2 separate regions of the Homo sapiens genome follow, and region 2 is linked to region 1. Evidence: promoter capture Hi-C in 16 types of primary human blood cells and fetal thymus (Javierre and others, 2016). All regions are on one chromosome and are shown on one strand. The core of a region is centred on a gene start or on the middle of the fragment in contact, and the rest is flanking DNA. Distances in the headings are between cores, read along the strand shown. Region 1 holds the start of NOL6 (nucleolar protein 6). Region 2 has its middle 42 kb from the start of PTENP1-AS.

Region 1 (5,500 bases), core at 807-3,306:
GGGTGGATCATGAGGTCAGGAGATCAAGACCATCCTGGCTAACACGGTGAAACCCCGTCTCTACTAAAAAATACAAAAAATTAGCCGGGCGTGGTGGCGGGCGCCTGTAGTCCCAGCTACTTGGCAGGCTGAGGCAGGAGAATCACTTGAACCCGGGAGGTGGAGCTTGCAGTGAGCCGAGATCGTGCCACTGCACTCCGGCCTGGGCGACAGAGTGAGACTCTGTCTCAAAAAATAAATAAATAAATAAATAATAAATAATAAAAAAGCTATTGTATAAACTGACCTGCACTGTTTGAAGTCAGAATAGTGATTGTTGGGGGCAGAGTTACTAGAGGGCAGCATGAGGGGAGATTCTGAAGGTGCAGGAAATGTTCTGCTTATTTTCTGGGAGCTGACTATATGAGTATGTTTGGTTTGTTAGTATTCAAGCTTTACACTTGGGATATGTACATTTTTCCTTATGTATATTGTACTTCAATACAAATTTTTAGACTGGGCACGGTGGCTCACCCCTGTAATCCCAGCATTTTGGGAGACTGAGGAGGGCAGATCACTTGAGGCCAGAGTTTGAGATCAGGCTGGCCATCATGGTGAAACTCTGTCTCTACTAAAAATACAAAAATTGGCCTGGTGTGTTGGCGCATGCCTGTAATCCCAGCTACTTGGGAAGCTGAGCCACAATAATCAATTGAACCAGGAGGTGGATGTTGCAGTAAGCTGAGATCGACCCACTGCACTCTAGCCTGGGCAACAGAGGGACACTCACTCTCTCTCAAAAAAAAAAAAAAAAAAAAAAAAAAAAAATATATATATATATATATATATATATATATATATATATATTATATGGTAATAGTTGAATTTAGATGATCCTGCATTAGGAAATAAAATGAAACATATAACGGTTATTACTGGAATAACTGACAAAATTTAAAGATGGAATTTGTATACTAGTATTGAATCACGATTAAATTTCCTTAATTTCATAATCGGGCTGTGCTTACATAAGAGGTAGTCCTTGATCTTAGTAGATACATACCTAAGTATTTAGGGAGATGTGTGATTGGTTTTCAAATGGTTTTGCAAAATAATATGTAAATACATAGGTAAAGATAAACTTGGCAAAATAGTAACACTAAGTGAATCTAGGTGAAGAGTATATGCGCATTCATTATATTATTCTTGCAACATTTGTTTTAAATTTTTAATAGTTTAAAAATAGGCCGGGAGCAGTGGCTCAGGCCTGTAATCCCAGCATTTCGGGAGGCCAAGGTGGGCGGGTCACTGGCAGTCAGGAGTTTGAGACCAGCCTAGGCAACATGAGGAAACCCCATCTCTAGTGAAAATACAAAAATTAGACGGGTGTGATGGTACCTGCCTGTAATCCCAGCTCCTCAGGAGGCTGAGGCACGAGAATCGCTTGAGCCTGGGAGAGGGAGGATGCAGGGAGCTGAGATCGTGCCACTGCACTCCAGCCTGGGCGACAGAGCAAGACTACTCCAAAAATAAATAAATAAATAAATAAATAAATAAATAAATAAATAAATAAAAATAACTAAATTACTTGAAATTGTAATAAGCTAAGTAATAAGTAAAAACTGGAGAAAAGTCATAACAATAATTCGGGAACAAGATGATGTGACGGGCTAAACCTGGCAGTGAAGACACAGAAAAATGAATAAATTCAAGGTATGTTTTGGAGGTAGAACTGACAAGATTTGTTAACTGATAAGGTGTAGCAAATAAAGAAAAAGGGAGGAATAACTGCTGTAAACAAACCTGACCAAAAGGAACAAACTAGCTCCGCCCTTCCCGATTGCAGCCACGCGAAGGAAGTGAGGAAAAGAAAGCAAAGGCCTAGCTACGGGCAGGCTTCCGTTCTAGCGTCGCGAAGAGGCCGTAAAGCACAGAAACCCGTTTGTCCCCTCCCCTAATGGGCGGGCCTTGAGACTGCCCGGCCAATGGCAAGCGAGTAATCGACTGATAATCCAATAGCTCTGGAGTGGGTGGAGTCCTGAGGAATTGGGGTGGGCTGGACTTGGGCCTGGAGTTAGGCATTTCCGCCCACGTGGGAAGCTATGAGGTATAGACCCGGCTAGAATCTGAAGTGCGGGAGAGTGCTGGACCCTGAGTGATGGGGCCGGCGCCAGCTGGAGAGCAGCTTCGCGGAGCGACTGGAGAGCCAGAGGTGGGTTGAGCCATCGGGGAGGAACAGAGGCTCAATGTGCGCTCCCTTGGCTGCAGGGCCCGAGATGGCGTGATCTGACAGCTTGCGGGTGAAAGCCATGCCGGCGGCCCATTCTGGAGGATGTTTCCAGCCAGTGGCACTGAGACAGGGCTTGCTAGGGGTGATGGAACCTGGCAGTATTTGGTTAGAAGCAGTGAAGCCGGTAGAGCCTCTGCTCTCTTCTGGAGCTCTGCACCTCAAAGTTGAAGAGACCCACACTTGGGTCGTTTCTTTTATTTGGTGGTCCTTGACGATAAGCGGGATCTTCCTCCACAGAATTTGTGTCCAGTTCTGTGCTCCCCGCTGTAGCGGAGGGCATACGGTGCCTCTCCTGGAGCGCTCCAGTAAGGCTCTCTGGGATGAGAGGCATCGTGGAGCGGATGGGCCCACGGCTGTAGGGGAAAAGGTTTGGGATCCTGCACGCTTGCCTTTGAAGCCTGCTCATAGTACGGGTGTACCAGTTGTGGAACCTCGAGTGAATAGTGGGACTTCAAGTGTCTTCAAGAATTATTTTGAGGATTTAATGACTTGCTAAATGTGTCCTCTGGGGTCCAGTCGGTTCTAGCTCCTTCCATCAGTGAGTATTTAGTGTAAACTGAGGCAGTCAGGTCTTCCTAGAGGAGGTGGAACCTGGCAGGATTTGGTTGGAGCGAGAATGGGAAAGACATTTGAGAAGTCCCAGGCCTATATCAGCAGAAGAGGAAACTTCCTGAAAATACAAGGGGCCTGGGCATTACTTAGGGCAGGGCTCAGTCAGCTTCTTTTTTTTTTTTTTTTTTTTGACAGTCTTGCTCTGTTGCCCAGGCTAGAATGCAATGGCACGATCTCGGCTCACTTCAGCCTCTGCCTCCTGGGTTCAAGTGATTTTCCTGCCTCAGTCTCCCGCGTAGCTGAGATTACAGGCATGTGCCACCACACCTGGCTAATTTTTGTATTTTTAATAGAGACGGAGTTTCCCCATGTTGGCCAGGCTGATTTCGAACTCCTGACTTCAGCTGATCCGCCCAGCTCCACCTCCCAAACTGCTGGGATTACAGGCGTCAGCCACCGTGTCCAGCCTGGGCCCAGTCAGCTTCTATCACTACCAATTCCAAACAGAGCTCCATGCTTGTGGTGTCAGGTAGACAGGAGAGCTCTTAACTCAAGGAATTTTCGGCTCAGCGCTCAGTGATGTTCATCCAAGTAACGATTCTCCTGAGTTTTACAAAATCTGACTCCTACTCAAAAGAGGGACAGAGCAGGTGAAGCTTTTACCCACAACCTATCATGGTGGCACTTTAGGCAGCAGATGCTAGATACCTATTACCTCAAAATGGCTTCTCCCTCACTGGCCACAGGTGATGGAACCAGCCCTGGAAGGCACAGGCAAAGAGGGGAAGAAAGCATCCTCCAGGAAGCGTACATTGGCTGAACCTCCAGCGAAGGGCCTCCTGCAGCCAGTGAAGCTCAGCAGGGCAGAACTGTACAAGGAGCCTACCAATGAGGAGCTTAATCGCCTTCGGGAGACTGAGATCTTGTTCCACTCCAGCTTGCTTCGTTTACAGGTACTGTTGAGTGTCTGCAGCTTTTGTTCGAGGTGTGTACCTGGGACCCTGAGGCTGATGGACTGTCTTCTACCCTCTCTTACAGGTAGAGGAGCTACTAAAGGAAGTAAGGCTGTCAGAGAAGAAGAAGGATCGGATTGATGCCTTCCTACGGGAGGTCAACCAGCGGGTTGTGAGGGTGCCCTCAGTCCCTGAGACAGAGGTAAGCAAGTGGCCTGGGGAACTGGGAAGCCCAAGAGAGACCTCCAGTGGGGGTATATCAAACAGGGGCCTTGCTGTTACTCTGTTTAAGGGTTGGGGTGCAGGGAGCTCATTCTCACAGCAAGGAAGCTTAGCTGGGAGCGTGGTCATTTGTGTATTCATTCAGCAAGTACTTCCATGCCTTGCAGTATTTGTGTTCTTAGGATATATCAGTAAATAATAGCCTATGCTGTAATGCTGAGGTTATAGTTAATAGATAAGCATAACAGGTAAACTCTATGGCAATGTTAGAATGTGGTAAACACTGGAAAAAGGAAAAAGTAGGACGAGCAATGTAAGGGGATTGGGAGTATTAGAGGATGGGAGTGGTTTACAAGTTTAAAGGGGGTGTTCACAAAGTAGGCCTTATTGAAGTGACATTTGTGTAAAGACTTGAAGTAGGTGAGTCAGCTATATAGATATCTAAGGGAATAAAAGCATTCCAGGAAGGGGGAACAGCCAGTACAAAGGCACAAAGGCAGGAATGTTCCAGTTACATTCCTTGGAATGAATGAGGAATACAGAAGGAGATGAGTTCAGAAAGGTGATGGGGAAAAGTAGCATATCATGCAGGGCATTGTGTCCCGAAGTAGGGACTTTGGCTGTTGCTCTGGGTGAGATGGGGAGCCACTGCTGGATTTTATTTTGCAGAACAGTGATGCCCTCTAACTTTTAAAAGTTCACGTTTTTGTTTTTGTTTTTGAGACGAAGTCTCGCTCTTGTCCTCCACACTGGAGTGCAATGGCGCGATCTCAGTTCACTGCAGCCTCCACCTCTCGGGTTCAAGCTATTCTCCTGCCTCAGCCTCCCGAGTAGCTGGGATTATCACACCCGGCTAATTTTTTTGGTATTTTTAGTAGAGAGGGGGTTTCACCATGTTGGCCAGGTTAGTTTTGAACTCCTGACCTCAGGTAATTTGCTCTCCTTGGCCTTCCAAAGTGCTGGGATTACAGGTGTGAGCCACCGTGCCCAGCCTAAAACGTTCACTTTTCCAGCCTTAAAAAGTTTAGTTTTAGAAAAATTTACTCCGGCTGTTGTGTCAAAAGTAGAATCGAGAGGGACAATGATGAGATTAGAGAGACCAGTTAGGAACTAGTCTAGGCACTGAGAAATGGTGGCTCCTCAAACTAGGGAGGAAAGTAGTGAAGTGATCCATTTCTTTCTTTTTTTTTTTTTTTTTTAAATCTTTTCCTCTCTCTGTTTTAAAAAAGTTTTCTTTTTAGAGAAGTGATCCATTTCTGAATACATTTTGGTAGTAAAATGGGTATTCTTTTTTTTTTTGAGACAGAGTCTTGCTCTGTTCCCCAGGCTGTAGTGCAGTGGTGCGATCTCGGCTCACTGCATGCTCCGCCTTCCGGGTTCACGCCATTCTTCTGCCTCAGCCTCCCCAGCAGCTGGGACTACAGGCGCACGCCGCCATGCCCGGCTAATTATTTTTGTAGAGACGGGGTTTCACCGTGTTAGCCAGGATGGTCTCGATCTTCTG
Region 2 (5,500 bases), core at 1,358-3,857, 250 kb before region 1:
CACAATGGAAATACGCAACCACTTCCAACTGGGTCCCAAATTCTCAAATGTCTCGACTACAGGACTCTAGGGACACAGCCTCCTCCTTAAGGATTTGTGAGATGTCTGTAAAGAAAAGGAAAATTTGTGAACCTTCTCAGAAGAAGCCACAAAAGAATACTTAGAGGCAAAAAATTACTCAGGCTGACATTTGAGAGGCTCTGGTTCACTGGTTCAGGCCCCCTTCCCAGGCTGACAAGGGTTGAGAGGCTCTGGAAGGACAGAGTCCACGGGAGCTGTGCTCTTCTGCGAATTCCGTCCAGCCATATTCCTCCACACCTGCAAAGTGGTGGAGAATGTTCTCTGCTTCACTCCACCCCAACTTGGGCATTGGAACAATGACTTCCTCATTGGGTTTTGGTAGTTTTTCCATTATGTTTTAATTTTGCCCTTTATATGAAGTGCTATATTTTGTTTTAGAATAGGCATTACATTGGCTCAAAAATCAATTCACACAGAAAGGTATACAGTGAAGTCTTACTTCCACCCCAGTTACAATCTCCTCCACATATGTGCACAGCTAATTCATTTTACTAGTATCTAGGGTACCCTTTACCAGAGTTTCTTTAAGATACTGCAAGATAGCTTAATCGCATTGCAATCTTGCATACCAAATTATATGCAAATTATGCATATAATTATGCAGACCAAAGTCTGACAGGTGCAGACCCTTGCGTATTCTCACTGAGTGTCTCCTGGGCTGCTCCTGCTGACAACCCCCTCTCCTCTCTCTATGTGATCTAGATCCATTTGAGAATCCTATGAAAGCTTTGGACCTTTCCTGAGGAAAATGCACCTAGGCACACACCTATACACATTGGCATTCAATTTTGGTGGGGGTTATGGGCTCTGTGAAGCCCATCTGTACCCTTGGTGATCACACCCCCCTTCTAAACTGTTATCTATTTAGAGCTCTGGGCAGGCACTTGGCTGAAAGCATTATGCTTCCTTTCAGAGGGAAGTTTCAGCAGGGCAAAGCCTGTATTACTGATCTCTGCTGTTTACAGAGATCTCAGTCTCTCCTCGGACCGAGGGGCATTGGTGCAGTGGAGCTGGGACCTGAGCTGGATCCTAGCTCTTAGGTAGAGTCCTGAGACTTTCATATGTCCTTTCCACAAAGTGAGTCTCACGAACAGACCTTATCCCGGAGGGTCACGGCTTTTTTCACAGAGATGGACATTGAGAGATAAGCACCCCAGGAACTACACAATTACAGTTGGGAGGAATATGGTGAAGAAAAACACCGGGGCCAGGACATCTTGTGTCACAAGGAGGCCTCCCAAGAGAGTGACATCGATGTGACGGTGTGTCCTTCAAGCCTGGGTCCAACTCCCATGTGGGGAGTGGCTGCCTTGGTCCCCAAGCCCATCATCCTGCAGGCAGTCCCTCTGACCACAAGGGGGCCTGCTGGAGCCTGGCCTGGCCCAGCCCTTCCCGCCCAAAAACACCTCCCAGTCTGGTCCCTGCTGTTGGTGACTCAAGGAGCCAACACCTGTCTCCAGAGGTCAAGGCCACCTTGAGGATATAGGGTGCCCCGACACTCCACACACGGGGCATGGAGGGAGTCTCCCGGCCGGGCCAGCCCCGGCTTCCTCTCAGTGGAATCTCTGCTACATGGGAGCCCTAGCGGGCTGGCTGGACCGACCCAGCCCCTGCCCCTGGCTTCCGCTTCTGCCCCACTTTGCTTCTTTCCCCCACGGTTGCCAGAGAGCCGCTGCCAGTTTTCCCAGCACATTGCTCACAGGAAATTAGAGTCCGAAGGTGCAAGATGAGAGAGAAAAGTCATACCTGGAATAACTGAAACCACTGGGGGCTGCATTTCCAGCTCCACTCGCCCTGTGCAAAAGCACTGAGACCCCACCTTCCTCGCAGGCTCCTGCGACACCCTCACCAGTGCTGAGGGTGCAGTTCCACCATGGACCATGAGGGGCTGCTTGCCCGGAGCTCCTGGAGGGGGCTCCCAGGGCCTGGCTCAGCTGGGAGAGGACAGAACACAGCAGGTAGCATCCGAAGCTTTACCTGTTGGCAGAGTGTGTGGTGTGTGCTTTGAGTAACATGGAGCAGGTTCAACAGAACCAAGTCTCTTCCTCTCCAAGATTCAATCACACCTAACGCTCTACTGCTGGAAACTCATCAGCCAGGCTGTGTCCTCTCTGCAAGGCACTCTTTACAGACCACTATAGAGGCTGCCTTTCTTTGCTGCTTTGCAATGTAGGAAGTGCTTCTGGTACACACCTGATGGTCTCCCCGTGACACTTCTGGAAGGTAGGCACTCGCGAGATAATTTTCTTTTGGCTGATGAGGGACTCTAGGACTGGCACCCAATTCCAGGTTGCCCACTTCTCGGTTTGATGTCCACTCCATTACGTGGTGGCCAGTACCACTCAGGCGCCTAGATGTGAATGAATCTGCCTGATGACTGGACTCCATGGCAGCAAAGCAGGGCAGCCCAGCAGTGTTAGGGAAGTGGTGAGTAATCCCTCAGGGGAAGGGAGAGCCAAGGCTCTGAAGATAGGAAGCCCACAGAGGAAGGAACCCCAGGCACGAGGGCAGACTTCCCTGTGTGCCAGGCAGAGTCTGCATTCTTGGGTGTGTGTGTGAGTTTTCACTCCTGTTAGTTCTTGGAGTTGACAACCAGCAATCACGTTTTGAATGGTCTCCTGGCCATGGATGGTGAACTGTGGGGTGTGTGTTCAGCGCTCTGTGCTGTTGCTGTTGTGGGAGCAACACCCAGAGCTCCATCGAGCCAGTATGTCCAGCTCTGTCTCTCTCAGCTAGCCTCCAAAATCTCTTCATGAGGGCATGACTCCCACTCGTGAGGGCTCCGCTCTTGCTCCCTAATCACCTCCCAAACATCCTACATCCTAACACCATCACATTAGCAGTTATGGTTTTAACAGATGAATTTGCAGGAGGGAAAAGACACACAAAAATTCCACTCATAGCACCCAAAGTGAGATTTAAGGTGATGCAAGAACACAGCATTAAATTTCATTGAATCGCACTAATACACTCTATTTAGTAGTAAGATGAATTAGTCAAAGACAGTCTGTTTGGTGAGAATAAGCACATAACATCTAACACCTACCAAACTCTCTTTTTATGAAAGAGAAAGCAAGCTTCAGCTTTGGCCCTCTTAAAGCTGGCAATGATATCTGGTTATATTAATAACGTTGTTTTTGTTTCATCGAATTTATTTTTATGCTTGGCTACCTTCTATTTACCGTAAGTGATGCCAATTTTTCTTTTCGGCTTATGATTGCAAGATTCCTTCATAAACATATGAATCTAAATTAAAAAGTGAGTTTAAAGAAACGTATTAACTAAATAACAGAAGGAATAATATACAGATATGGAAAAGTCTGAAGGTATGGAATTCTGTACTACCCCCAGAAGCTTATGAAAGCTTCTTTTTTCTAAGGAAAATTCCCTCTATGAGAAGAATTCTGATGCCAACACCAATCAATTTCTGAAATCTACTTCGATTCATCTCTTGGGTCAGTTTGTTTTATTTTCGTTTACAAGAAGGGCTCACGGGTTTTATGTTCTCTAGTGTTTATATGTTTGACTACTGCATCTGATTTAACAAGAACTTGTATGGTAGGAAATTGTTGTGTTCCACTTTCTTTTCCTCCGAACTTTGTGGACACTGTTTTACTATTTTCTTGCATCAAATGCTGCCTGATTCTCAGGGTCCTCTCCCAGCCCTACCCCACCATTGTAAGTGGATTGCTTTTTGTTCTTGAATACATGAGACTATTTTCTTTTACTTTGAAGTGTAGTAAATTCATCAAGTATGTCTCAGAGTTGAGCCAGCACTGTCACTTCTTTCCAGAATCCAGGGAGCCCTTTCAATTTCCTAGCCAGCTCTTTCTTTTCTTTTATATTGGTAGATATTTTTTGTATTTCATGCACTGTAGTCTTTCTTTTGGGGAAACAAGGACCCATGGGTAGATCATTATCTATCCCTCATAGCTTAATCTTCATCCTAACCATTTCGACTTTATTGTCTTTTCCCTACACACCTTCTATGATTATCTCAAGCTTTTTTGAAAGTGATGAATTTAATATTTGACTATGTTAATTTTGTTTCTTGCTCTTTCAAATTTACTTAACTCTGTAATTGCTGTTTTGATCTGCAATTTTTCCTTAGCTTTGTAACTACCATTTTTCCATCTTATTTTATTGTCTCATCTAAGTATTTATTTATTTTTGTTTCAATGAATATGTTTTCTTTGTTTTTTTCTAGATACAAAATACTTGTCTTAGATTTTTTTCTCTGTTTCTTAGGCTTATATTAGATTTCAGGATGGATTTTTCACTTTCCCATTTATACTATATTTCCTCTTCTTTTTTGTGTTAAGCTCTCTGCATAGTTGCCATGAATTTTCTTTTATTCCTGCAGAATTTTTAATAAAAGGAGCTCTATCAGCGCATCCCATTTGCCTGTATATTCTGTAAATCAATGTTACTTGGTTCTCATCTCAATGTGTCTGAGTGCTGTTGTCTTCCCTTCAGTAGTGTTTGCTTCTATTCTTACAATCTTTCTTACCCTTAGCAAGTTACTTATGCTTTCCGTGCCTCAGTTTTGTCAACCTACATCCTATATACAGGTTCAGCACTAAATGAGCCATAATGTGTAAAATGCTTATAACAGTGTCTGGCATACACGAAGGCTATTATCCTCAGGAAGGGAGGCTCTCTTCTCTCCAGCTTCTTTTTACCCCCAACTTTTATTTTAGGTTCAGGGGGGTACCTGTTCAGGTTTATTATATGAGTAAATTATTTGTCATGGGGGTTTGGTGTATGGATTATTTCATTGCCCATGTAATAAACATAGTACCCGACAGTTAGCTTTTCAATTCTCACCCTCCTCCCAATCTCCACCCTCACTAAAAATACAAAAATTAGCCTGCCATGGTGGCATGCACCTGTAGTCCCAGCTACTTGGGAGGCTGAGGCAGAAGAATCACTTGAACCCAGGAGGCACAGGTTGCAGTGAACTGAGATCGCACCACTGCACTCTAGCCTGGGCGACAGAGTGAGACTCTGTCTCAAAAAAAAAAAAAAAAAAAAAGATGCGACCGTGTTCTGAATACAGATGTTTATTCTAAATATAAGGCAATTCTCTAAAACAATGACAATGAGTGAAATCAATAATAAGCACTCATTTTCATGCATGAAAATCACTTACCAATTTTTTTGTAAACTTTTTGATGAAAACATATTTTTAAAGTTTCTTTTGTAAACTTTTTGATAAAAGAAAACCCTTCGACCCAGTAATTCTACATCTAGTAATTTATCCTAGGAAAAAATCAGGACACACCAAAAGTTGTATGGATAACTATGCTCATTACATTGTTATTTATAACATGAAAAATTGTAATCAACCTAAATGTTTGATAAATTAAGGAATAGCAATACAATAAAACTCAAAACAGACATTAGGCTATAGTAGAAT

Evidence for each region. Contacts are between HindIII fragments. The CHiCAGO score rates a contact against its expected background, and 5 or more counts as called.
Region 2: a contact is called between a fragment that was not itself captured here and the fragment with the promoter of NOL6 in region 1, in 1 of 17 cell types (erythroblasts). The highest score is 5.5, in erythroblasts.

Annotation. Positions count from the first base shown.
Region 1 is chr9:33,470,480-33,475,979 of GRCh38, reverse strand. NOL6 (nucleolar protein 6) reads left to right here and starts at 2,056. Exons shown (of 26, transcript NM_022917.5): 1 at 2,056-2,191; 2 at 3,568-3,774; 3 at 3,860-3,976. The coding sequence starts at 2,138. LOC107987061 (a long non-coding RNA gene) reads right to left here and starts at 1,840. Exons shown (of 3, transcript XR_001746648.3): 1 at 1,783-1,840. RefSeq lists an enhancer at 2,105-2,444. The HindIII fragment of the contact is 3,045 bases long and covers 435-3,479 here.
Region 2 is chr9:33,716,196-33,721,695 of GRCh38, reverse strand. No RefSeq gene overlaps it. Among named protein-coding and RNA genes, the nearest start is that of PTENP1-AS, 42 kb to the right of the region's middle. RefSeq lists enhancers at 1-187, 1,513-1,602. The HindIII fragment of the contact is 1,106 bases long and covers 2,055-3,160 here.